3 separate regions of the Homo sapiens genome follow, and regions 2 and 3 are each linked to region 1. Evidence: promoter capture Hi-C in human tissues and cell types (Jung and others, 2019). All regions are on one chromosome and are shown on one strand. The core of a region is centred on a gene start or on the middle of the fragment in contact, and the rest is flanking DNA. Distances in the headings are between cores, read along the strand shown.

What was found. The method cuts DNA at HindIII sites, captures the fragments that hold promoters and counts their contacts. A contact is called where the count stands out against the background at its distance.
Region 2: a contact is called between a fragment that was not itself captured here and the fragment with the promoter of CASZ1 in region 1, in 1 of the 25 tissues and cell types used here (neural progenitor cells).
Region 3: a contact is called between a fragment that was not itself captured here and the fragment with the promoter of CASZ1 in region 1, in 4 of the 25 tissues and cell types used here (dorsolateral prefrontal cortex, mesenchymal stem cells, mesendoderm cells and 1 more).

Annotation. Positions count from the first base shown.
Region 1 is chr1:10,794,682-10,798,661 of GRCh38, forward strand. It overlaps CASZ1 (castor zinc finger 1), which reads right to left and starts at 1,965. Exons shown (of 21, transcript NM_001079843.3): 1 at 1,883-1,965. The HindIII fragment of the contact is 29,932 bases long and covers 1-3,980 here.
Region 2 is chr1:10,648,534-10,652,502 of GRCh38, forward strand. It overlaps CASZ1 (castor zinc finger 1), which reads right to left. Exons shown (of 21, transcript NM_001079843.3): 12 at 2,408-2,543; 13 at 2,159-2,222; 14 at 750-904; 15 at 537-659. Among named protein-coding and RNA genes, the nearest start is that of CASZ1, 150 kb to the right of the region's middle. The HindIII fragment of the contact is 4,971 bases long and covers 1-3,969 here.
Region 3 is chr1:10,549,230-10,552,687 of GRCh38, forward strand. All of the region lies in intron 3 of PEX14 (peroxisomal biogenesis factor 14), which reads left to right. Among named protein-coding and RNA genes, the nearest start is that of PEX14, 76 kb to the left of the region's middle. The HindIII fragment of the contact is 6,902 bases long and covers 1-3,458 here.

The DNA.
Region 1 (3,980 bases), core at 715-3,214:
TCCGGACCCGGGTCGGGGATGACTTGGAAGAAGAATCTGCGCCCACCCCTTAGAGAAAAATCTATTATTATTATCTTAATCTACGCCCCCAAAGTGTCCCTCCAGCCGTGATTGACGGCGCATACACCTGTTCCCTTCGCGGAGGAGCTTCCAGCGCCGGGGACAGACATTCGCCCAAACGCTCCGCAGCGGCCCAGCAACCGCCCGCCCGCCCGCGCCCGGCCAGCCCCCGCCAGCGGCCCCAGCGCGCCTCTGCCCGCACCTCGCCACCCCGGCGGCCGCCCCCTCCCCTTCCAGACCCGGCTGCCCGGCCCGCCAGCTCCCGGCAGTGCTGGCTTCGGAAAGAGAGAGAAAGAACAGAAAGCAAAACTTCCTGGCGGCCGACGGCCATCAGCTGCACATTCTGCAAATGCCACCGAGTAAAAATAAACCGGCCGCCGCTCCGCCCGTCCGGCTCACCCCGGGCGCACGAATCGGCCCCCTGCCCCGGGAGATCCCTGACTCGGTCTGGCCCGATCCCCCATTCCCGCGCGCCCCCTGGATCCCCGCTCCCCGACGCTCCTCCGTCAGTCACCACGCTCTCCTTTGCCGTTAAGCCGGACCCTAAGTGACCGGGAAACCGGCTCTCTCCCTTTGGTGTTCCCTGCGCCCCCACAAACTACTTTTTTCTCTGTCCTTCACCAGGTGCCTATTTCAGCCCTGTGCCCTTGGATTCAGGGCTCCTCCTCCCCAATTGTTGAGCTCCGAGGTCACCCTCAGCCCACCCTGGGGGAACAGACCCCGACCGACCCTCTCCCACGCTGCAGAGCCCCCCCGGAGCGCACCACTCTACCAGCCCGCTAGCCCGCCAGCCCAGCGTCCCACGTCCCCGGGCGCAACTTCTCTTCTGGCGCACACAACAGCCGGCAACAACTCGCCCGAACTTTCCCCGGGACCCAGGCGGGCTCCAGCCGACAGCCGGGCAGCTCTGGGCCGATGCCCCGGCTCCCCGTGCCCTGTGTTGCCAGCCCTTCAGCTGGGGAGGCAGGGGGTGGGGTGGGGAAGGGAGTGAGGAACGCCACTTGCCGCGCCTGGAGCAGCGCACTTGAGATAAACTTCCCAGGCACAGATGAAAAAGGGGGCGCCGCTCCCCCCATCTAAGAAATCTCTTGCCTTCGATTTCCTATGGGGGATACCCTTTGGCACCCCGCGCCTAAGCGAACACTGCCTACCTCTGCTGGCAGCACCTACACCCGGTATCCGGGCACAAGAGCCGGCTGGAGGGGTTCCCCACCCACCCCTTCCCATGGGCAAAGTCTTGCAAAGTCACCCCAGGCACCCCTCACCCCGCCTCCTTCTCTGCCCTGGAGAGCGCACGACCCCTCTGCTGCTGGGGGGTGGGGTGGGGTGGGGGTTTAAGGGGAAGGAGTGATTACCCGGTATTGGAGATCACCTGCCCCCCCGGGAGCCCACAGCGCGTGGGGCGCCCCCACCCTATTTGCAAAGTCCTGTGCTCGCGCCTGGCACCTCCCTCTCTTCTCCCCTACCCCGCCACCCCCTCAGTTGGAGTAAGCGACCCCCAGGAGGAGCAGCCCTCCCCTCCCCCGGAGCCGCGCGCCGGGCATTCCCCTGGCCACGGCAGGCAACGCGCCGCCCCGCGCCCGGGTGCCAGCCCTCCGTGCCCCCTGCCTCCGCACGGCCGGAGTTGGGTGGCAGCCGCCGATCGCAGGCTGGCTGGCTGGCTCGCTCGCTCGCTCGCTCGCCCGCTCCCTGCTGCAAGCGGCAGCCCCGGGGGTGGGGGGGGTGCACCGGGACAGGGGGAGAGACGGGGAGGCGCCCCGGGAGGCCCGCGGAGCTGGGGGACGTGGGGGGGCCGCGGCGGAGGGAGCGCCGAGTCTCTTACCTGCACTTGGGGCGGCTTTGGGTGACTTTCCAAGTCCGGGGGAAAAATGTGTGTGTGTTTGGGATGGAGCGCCGCGGGCGCGCATGCGCTGCCCAAAGTTGCCGGATCCCGGATTTTTCGCTCCCAGTCTCCGCTCTCGCCCGCTGTGATTATGGAATTCTCCGCGGCCGGGCGGGCGAGTGGGTGGCATGCAAAACCCGGGCCGGATCGCGGGGCCGGGCTCCGCTCCACCCTCACACCCCCAGACCTGCCCCTCCCGGATCCTTCCCACCCACCGCCCGGGCTGAGCTCAGCGTGTGCGCGCGGCGAGTCGCACGGCCTGCGGAGGAGCATCTGAGCGCTCGGCCCCCTTTTGCAGGTCCAGAGGCTTCTACACCCCCCCCCAGCTGAGTTGAGTTGAGGCTAGGGGAAAAGAGAGAAGGGATGGGGGGGGGGGTTACTTTCCACCTGTTCTGAACCCCGAGAGAGCCCGAGTTCGGTTCCCACTTTCGACAGAAGAACTGGCTCTTTTTTGCAAGTTAGAATGTTAGAACTGTGGAACCCAAAGGAACGAAATGTTCTCACTGTTTGATATCTGCTTTGCACTTATTCTTTGCAAGGGAGTTTTTCATTCAATCTATTGTGCAAGAAATAAATCCTTAAGTGAGCAAGATAGGCCGTGCAGAATGAACCTTACATGGAGGGGCTGGGGGGGGGGCAGATAATACACATTAAAACAAGTGGATAATGTTATTTCAGAGAGTGAAAGTATCCATGAAGAAAATAAACCAAGGCAATAGGCTAAAAAGTGTCTTGGGGGCCGGCATGGTGGTTTACGCCTGTAATCCCAGCACTTTGGGAGGCCGAGGCAGGAGCATCGGTTGAGCCCAGGAGTTCGAGACCAGCTTGGGCAACATAGCTAGACCTCATTTCTGACAAAACAAAACAAAGCAGTGTCTTGCGAGAGATAATCCCCTTGCCCCCAGATGGGGGGGAAGGGCCTTTTGAGGGGCACTTTCATACTTTATTGAAGAAACCCCCTTTTCTCCCATACCCAGACTTCCCATTTCCCAGTTGGTTTGAGGTGGCCACACCAGCTGAGCCTAGTAGTCAGCTTCAGTGCTGAGGCCCTGTAGCTCTGGTCTTGCCTTTCTCAGCAAGCGCACCCCTCATTCCAGGCCTGAGCTGCTTTTCCCTTCAGCATAAGCGTGGGATGGAAATATCGAGAGGCATGAAAGAAACTGAAAACACCCAGATGATGAGATAAGTGAGAAACTGACCATAACAGTAAACGAAATAGATCAATGATTTGTGGAATAAATGAATATAAATTCAAAGTATGACCCACAGCTTCAAGCCCTGCTCAACAGAATGCATTAAACTAAGAGGCAATGCCACAGGCTGGTAAACATTGTTGCAGGCTGGTAGTATTTGGAGCCTAATCTGCAAGGTGTCAGGAAAGCCTCTCAGGACCAGAGAAACGACCCAAAACCCTGTATGATGATTGTCTAAGACAAGCATCTTCCGGGATGCATTCCCATGTCCTGCCTTAAACTGGAAGTTAATTGTCCAGAAGCATATGGACACAGACTGGAGACATGATGGCCCTCTGGCCCTGAGGAGGCCAGGATTTGCCCTGTGCCCTAATAAAGCCAACAAATTTGGGAGAGGAAGCTGAGCCATCCCACACTCCTTAGATACTCAGTGATATTTGCTTGTGTTAGATGGACTGGGGAAGAAACCAGCTCAAAAAACCAGCTCCTCACTTCCTGGAATAGTTCTGGGGGTCCATTCAGGATCTGTCCACACAGGAAAGCCAGATTTAGACATTAGACACATGTTTCGGGTTCATTTTGTTTTCCCCCCTCCTTATCCCAATAATTGACTGGAAGCAGCAACACAACGATAATTAACATCCCTCAAAGACCACTGATTGGTTACTCTCCATTGCCGCCCCCACCATCCAAGGCATTCTCAGCTCTCAGGGGTTGAGGGCTCACCCACCATCTCTAAGACCCTTGTGCCTGGTGACTTAGCAGGATGCACAGCCCCAGAGATCTCAAGCCCAATCTTGTCATCCTACAGAAGGAGAAACTGAGGCACAGTGAGGGGCAGTAAC
Region 2 (3,969 bases), core at 298-2,797, 150 kb before region 1:
CGGAAAAGCCTTGGGAGCACTGCAGGTCTGTTTTAAACGATTTCAAGTTCTGAGTTCCCTTATAAGTGGGCGGCTAGGCTCGAAGCCTTTTAACTCAATGGGATTTACAAATTCATTTCATTATGTTTAGGTCAAAGGTAACCTAGAGATGTAATATTGTGGCTTGGAAAGGCCTTCAGCTAGGGTTCCTGCTCCAGGTCACAGCCGAGTCTCTCCAGCTGGGCTCTGTGCCCCTCTGGCCTGCTCTGCAGGGAGCACGTGCTGGGACTGATGGCTGCCCTGGGGACGTGGGTGCAGCAGCAGCTGTTGCTCAGGGTCCCAGGAAGGGCCTGGACAGGGGCTCAGAGCCCCCGGCTGAGGGCTGCATGTGTGAAGGAGGATGGGAAGCCCACCCTTGCTGGGGCAGCATCTCCGAGAAGCCGGCTCAGCTTCTGTGGCCCAGCGGGAACTGCTGTACCAGCCTGAGCCCCACCCACCCCAGAGCCAGGCTGGGATCCGTGGGGCTCTGTGGAAATGGCCCCCAGCACCCTACTCACTTTGCGTGCTTGATGGCCCCGTCCAAGGTGCTGAAGAGCGCGCCGCATTCCTCCACCACGCAGTGGAAGTGGGCCTTGTGGAGGAAGTCACACTGGCCGTCACAGAAGTCCTTTGTACCAAACCTAGCCAGAGGAGCTGGCGTTAGAGGAGAGCCTGGGGCTCCAGGGCGGGTGCGGGGGGACGATGGGTGGACGCGGCCAGCAGCCCCTCACCTGCGCAGGTACACCTTCCAGGGCTCTGCCAACTTCTCCTGAACCAGCGCCTTCACGGCCTTGCCTAGGAAGGGCGAGGGCTCCGCAGCGGGGCTCCCCTCCGCTTCCGCCTTGATGTTCAGCAGGCTGCCCAGGCCAGGGTTGCCCTGAGACATCTGTGAGGGACAGAGGCCGAGCATGGGGCTGGGGTAGCTTAGAACACAGACACGGCAGCCTGGGGAGCAACAGCCGAAGCTCTGGGCTGCTGGGACCCACCCAGCCCTCAGAGCCAGCAGAGAATGCGGCCCGCCTACTTGGCTCTGGCTGTGGCTGGGCCCTCTCTGAACAGAGAGCCTGCTGTGCTGCCCCGACCCCAGGAGCTGCGAGGCCTCCTCAGGGCTCCTCCACATGAGCCCGTGCCGCGGGATCCATCACTCAAGCCGAGGCCGCGACTCAGGGTGCACGCTGCAGCCCATCTTTCCCCAGACTTCGCGGCTCCCTGGTTATTTTCCTGCCAGAAGGTTTTCAAAAGAAGCGCAGAAGGAGGAGGGATGGGGGAACCCCTACGAATTCCTTGAGAACAAGAGGAGGCCCACAAAGGAGAGAGAGGGAGGGAGGGAGGGAGGGAGGCTCACGGGTGAGACCCAGACAGGCTTGCTGCAGCGGCCGGGAGGGGGTCATTGCGAGGATCCAAGGGAAGGGAGGGGGTCGTGGGGGCGGAGGCCAAAGGAAGGGGAGGGGGAAGGAGAGCAAGAGGGCAAGTGGCCAAGGAGTGGATGCCACGGACCAGTGAGGCTCCTTCCCCACCGAGTGCCCGGCTGGGGCCCTGCGGCGAGAGGTCCGGCCCGGGCCCGGCCCCTCCTCAGGGCAGTCACTTGTGTACAGTAACCGAATTAATCTTGCTGTAGTCAAATGTATCATGTGAAGGGGAAAAATGTATTTGAGATGATGTATAATTTACAAAGACCCTGCATTATTTAAAATAAATATTCCGGAGCGACCTCTCCGGAAGGCGTCCGAGACCATTACTCAACCGGAAAAGTGGAAATTGATGTTTTGCTCCCACTTTAGTCCCCCCTCCCCCATCCCCTTTTAAACAAACAAAAAATATATATAAAATAAATAAATAAAATTAATAACGAGGCACGAACGAAGTTGAAGGGCTCTGGAAAAGCTTTTGGAGCCCTCCATCTGAAGGGAAAAAAAGGTGTCAGAGGCTGGAATATATTTCTTCAGCCAGTTCATTAAATTAATTTGTAAGCAGTGGCTCTGAAATTATATCCGATGAAAAATGGCCTCAAAATTTAAATGGTACAAACTCATCTTATTAGAGGCAAAACATTAAAAAACAAACACATCCCCCCACCCCCCAGCACAGCTTTAATTTCTCTGGGTGGGGGAACGGGAGGCGTGTGATGGATGGCTCTTACCTTATTCATAAGCGAGGATAAAAGAGATGAATTTGCCGGGACTGCGTGGCCATTTGATTCGTTGCTAGAACACACAAACCAAGGGACTTGAGCTCAGACGGCCGGGGCCTGGGCCCTGGGGCTCACCTTCCCTGCCCGACCCTGGGGCTCCAGCCGAGCCCGCTGCAACTGCCTGGGCGGGACCACCCCGGGGCTCCAGCTCGAAGGTGTGGTTCCCGGGGCTGGCTCCCATAGGGGGCCTCGCCTCACCTGGGCTCCTTCACAGTCAGGTCTAGACTGCGGTCCTGGGAGGCTTCGTGGGGGCCTGGGGCGCCGGTGCTCTCACCGGGTTCCGGCTTCACTTGGGCCGGGGGGAACCTGGCTGGGGTGACCTGCTGCCCGCTTCCTGCAGGGGAGGGGTGGGAAGATGCGTCAGAGGGGCTGAAGGCCTGGCCCGGGCACAGACAGCCGCCGTGCCCCCTGGAGGGAGGGCAGTGGGCTGGGTGGGCCCCGGCTACTGGTCAGCGCTTCTCCCGCTGACGTGATCGCTCGCGACGCTCGCTCCTGTGTGGCAATTCTTCAAGTGATAATTATTGCAAAATTATGTCAAAGTTGTCCTGGCTCAGGGCCTCCTGGAGGAGAAGGGCGGGAGGCTGGGGAGGGGGCTGGGGTGGGGGCGGGGGCCCTTCATTTTCTCCACCAACTGTCACAGTCGATTTGTGGGGCTGCCGCTTAGGCTTTTATTAAAGACTCTGTTAATGCTGAGGGAAAGTGGCAGATCTGGACTGGGAGGGCCCCTCTGTGGTCCCCAGCCCGCGGTTGCTGGGGTGACGGCCCCCGCACGGAGCATGCCCAGGAAGGGCCTCTGCTGTGTCAGGGCGATGGGGCCGATGGCCAATCAGAGCGGCCACACCGGGTGACCTCGCAGTCAAGCTATCCGGGGCAGGGACACGAGGCCAGGCTGGGCCGAGCTGGGTCCGGAAGGGAGCTGGGCGGGTGAGGCCGCAGGAGGCCAGCAGAGCAGGGGTAAAAGAAGTTGCTGACAGGGCCATCCAGCGAGCTTTCCCCTACAATCCCCCAGTGACGGAAATATGAATTTGCCCCAAGGTGCTGTAGCTGACAGAGTGCTGCTTCAGAAACAGCAAGTGGCATTTTATTAAAAAATAAAACGGCCCCCTCCCCTGTGCTTGATCTTTCTTTTGGGAGAAGGAGACTTTTCTAATGAAAACAAAGTACTTGACAGTCTGGCCACCGAGCCCACGTGGCCCTGGAGTGGGCCCTGCCCCATCCATCAGGCACCTGGCTGGAAGGGCGTGGCCAGCGAGGCCCCACCCATGCCTGGACCAGGAGGCGGTCCCTCCACGCGGCCACCGGGCATGAGCGTCCTATTGGGCCTGTGAGAGTTTTCAGACCTTGGGACTTCACATTCCAGCAGCTCTCCAAAGTCACCTGCCCAAGGTCCCAGGAAAACGGCCCAGCTCCCCTGCCAAGCACTGGCAGCCTCTGCAAGGTGTGGGCAGAGCCCCAGACTGGGCCACAGGGACCCTCAGTCTTGGCTGGTTCTGAGAGGGTTTCGAATGGGAACAGGGCATCTAGGCCCAGGAGCCCCACTCCTGCGGGCAGCGCCTTGGTTCACCACTTCCTAGCCATGTGCCCGGGACAGACCATCCCTGACCGTCTGCTGGCTCCACGGCGTGGGGCTCTGTCTGGCGTCCCGCCTGCTGTGTCCCCAGCACCCGGCTTGGAGCCTGGCTCTCAGCAAGCATCAGTGGTTGTTGAATGAATAAGTGAAATGAGCCACATCCCAGATGTGAACGGAACTCTCCTCAAGG
Region 3 (3,458 bases), core at 73-2,572, 250 kb before region 1:
TCAGTCTGTTTTGGCTTTAAGCTGTAAGAAAAATATTTTAACACTGACAGTAGTAAACCTATGAAGCTAAAGAACAAAGCCATACTCTCCCCAGCTTTATAAGTCACACGCGGAATTGTGAATTAAATTATTCTAATTGCAAAATTTGGGGTCTTGGCCGAAAGAACACAGGTCGAATTTGAAGAAGAGGCAGCTAGAAAAATCGGTGTAACTTTTACGTGAAGATAATTTGCACAGAATGTAATTGAAAGAGAATAAATATGGAGCTCCATGATGTCCTCTTTGAGTCTATTTCTCATATTTACTTACATTTTTTTTTCCCAATCAAAGGCTCTCCTTTAGGCAGTCCTGAAAAGAGGAGACACAGTGCTGAAATAGAAATAAAGGTTAAGTATCTCCGATCCAAAATGCTTGGGACCAGAAATGTTTCAGTTTGGATTTTTTCAGATTTTGGAATATTTGCAGAATATTGTGTTGGTTGAACATCCCTATTCCAAAATCCTCCAATGAGCATTTCCTTTGAATGTCATGTTGGCACTCAAAACGTTTCAGATTTTGGATTATTTTGGATTTCAGATTTTTGGATCAGGGATGCTCAACCTGTAACAGGCAGAAATAATAGAAAATAACAGAAATAACATAAAATAGCACTGTTCTTTGGAAGATCTTAGTACCTTATTTGGAAAGATTTTTACTATTCATTCATCCACCACCCATCCATCCATCCATCCATCTTTCCATCCAACAAGTATTTATTGAGTGCATGTATCTTACAAGGCATGGTGCTGGCCCTGGGAGTGAGGATGTAATGTTACCATTTACATAAAACAAACAGAGGCCTGGGGTGGAAGCAGACTCCACAGAAATATGAACAAACAAGCAAAATACAGATAAGCAAGGTGCTGTGAGAGAGAATAATGGAGAGGGTGGGGTAGGTTTGCATTGGGAAGGTTGCTGAGACCAGAAGAATGATAAGTGGTTCTGTGAAGAATGAGAATCCCGGGCAGAAAGGACAGCAAGCTCTCAAAGACTCCAAGGCAGGAAAGGAGCTTGATTTGATCTAGGAACTCCTGCAGCAGTGAGTGAAAATGAGAGTGACATTTTATAGCTTCCATCTGGAGACACCATGGAAAATAAAAGTTCTATTCTCCCAGTCTAGAATTGTCCATGTCAGCTGTGACCAAGTTCAGCTCTGTTCACCAAGCATTCCTCATCTGCTGTTTGCCAAGTGCTATGCTAAGTGCACTGGGGACATAAATGGTCCACACCCTTAGAGAACTTGGTGATGAGGCTGTAGAAGCTACTAGTAATACAGATGTTTTAATTTACAGGCAAGCCTGAGATGATACGGTACAGACTGTATAATAGCCACTGGCATGTGTATTTTGCTTTACAGCTTAAAAGCATTCACACATACATTTGCCCATTTAATTTTCATGGTAACCTAAGTCATTTCCTCAAAAAGTGTAAACATGGGCTTATGAGACATATGGAAGCCCACCCAATTTGAGGAGCAGGGTCTCTGTCATCACTGAGTTGAATTTCAGGGTGTAGTCTGCGCCTGTGCTCTCCCCTTGAAGAATCACATTGTAGAAAATGAAATCTAGAATGACTACAGAGGTTACTTAGTTCGTCTATACCTTTTCATATACATTTCAGTAATTATTTTGCTACATAGGAAGTGAATTTAATTTGGAGTTTTTCCTGCTGCCTTCCATGAGGGCTTTCATCCTAAGCCCCATTCTTGTGTGTGAGAAGAGGAAGTCTTGGGCTTGAGTGTGGCTCTAAAGTAAATGCCGTTGACTTTGTTGTTCTGTATGGACGCTTTTATCAGGACAATAAAGGGTACATAGGGTGACCTCTGCTCCTGTGGAGAGGTCGAATGGTTACATTACACAATCTTCTAGAGCATCTTGCAGCAAATACATGGGTTATATTAAAAATTGCAATCATATCATTTTTTATAGTAAATTGCTGACCTTCTGCAGCGGAATCAGCTTTATTGAATTTCGCCAAAAATGTGTTTATAATTCTGCCATACACACATGATATTCATGTCCTTGCTGTCCATGTGGAAATGTCCCTTTTTATAATGTTAAACAAATTAAATCGACTTTCTCCTGAGCTTCCGTGCCTCACCTTTAAGATCCATTCTCAGGAGTCGAACCTCCATGAAGCCGAGCTCATCTCCATTAGCGTGGATGTCATTACACAGCGCGCTGGAGGCTGGTGCATTAGGCAGCTTTATCCCAGCAGCACGGATTCGGCTTGGAGATTCTTTAGAGGTGACTCCAGGGCAGTAAATGTATTTCACGCATACTGCCTGAACACTAACAAGGCCTTACCATAATTACTCTGTTTGTTTTGGGGAAATGGTAGGTATTTGTTTAAAAGGATTTTGTGGTGAACCAAGAATATACATGTGTAGTTAGTTCTCGCTATTCACTTGTGAATGATGCATTGTAGAAGTTTTATCTTATACCAATTTTTCTTTAATTTTCTGCAGCTCTACTTCCCTTCCAACCAGTTTGGTATCAGGGATGCAAACTAATTTTAATGTTAGCCTAACAAAAATACAATCAGAAAGTTATGGCCAGGCACGGTGGCTCATGCCTGTTTACAGTCCCAGCACTTAGGGAGGCTGAGGCAGGTGTGGAGTTCGAGACCAGCTTGGCCAACATGGTGAAACCCCGCCTCTACTAAAAATACAAAAATTAGCCGGGTGTGGTGGCAGGCACCTGTAGTCCCAGCTACTCAGGAGGCTGAGGCAGGAGAATCTCTTGAACCCGGGAGGTGGAGGTTGCAGTGAGCTGAGATCGTGCTGCTGCACTCCAGCCTGGGCGACAGAACAAGACTCTGTCTCAAAAAAAAAATAAGTTATACTGCATACTGCATACTTAGATGAAACATAAACATTTAAAAACTATCTCCGGGCTGGGTGTGGTGGCTCATGCCAGTAATACCAGCACTTTGGGAGGCCGAGACGGGCAAATCACGAGGTCAGGAGTTCAAGACCAGCCTGGCCAATGTGGTGAAACTCCATCTCTACTAAAAATACAAAAATTAGCTGGGCATGGTGGCGGACGCCTGTAATCCCAGTTACTCAGGAGGCTGAGGCAGGAGAATCGTTTGAACCTGGGAGGCGGAGTTTACAGTGATCTGAGATCACGCCATTGTACTCCAGCCTGGGCAACAGGGCAAGACTCCGTCTCAAAAAAAAAATCTGCTTTTTAGATTCATTTACTCTAAGTTTGTTCATGCCTGTTATCTATATATTTATATCTATGTTTGTATCAATTGTTGGTTCCCAGTTTAGCACATAGAGGCAGTATGATTCACTGGAAAAATCATCTATCCATTTACTAATTATTAAATATCCATTTCCTTCATGTGCCAACATTTGTGCTAAACATAAAAATACAAAAATAAGATTTAATATTTGTAGTTTAGTGGGGTTC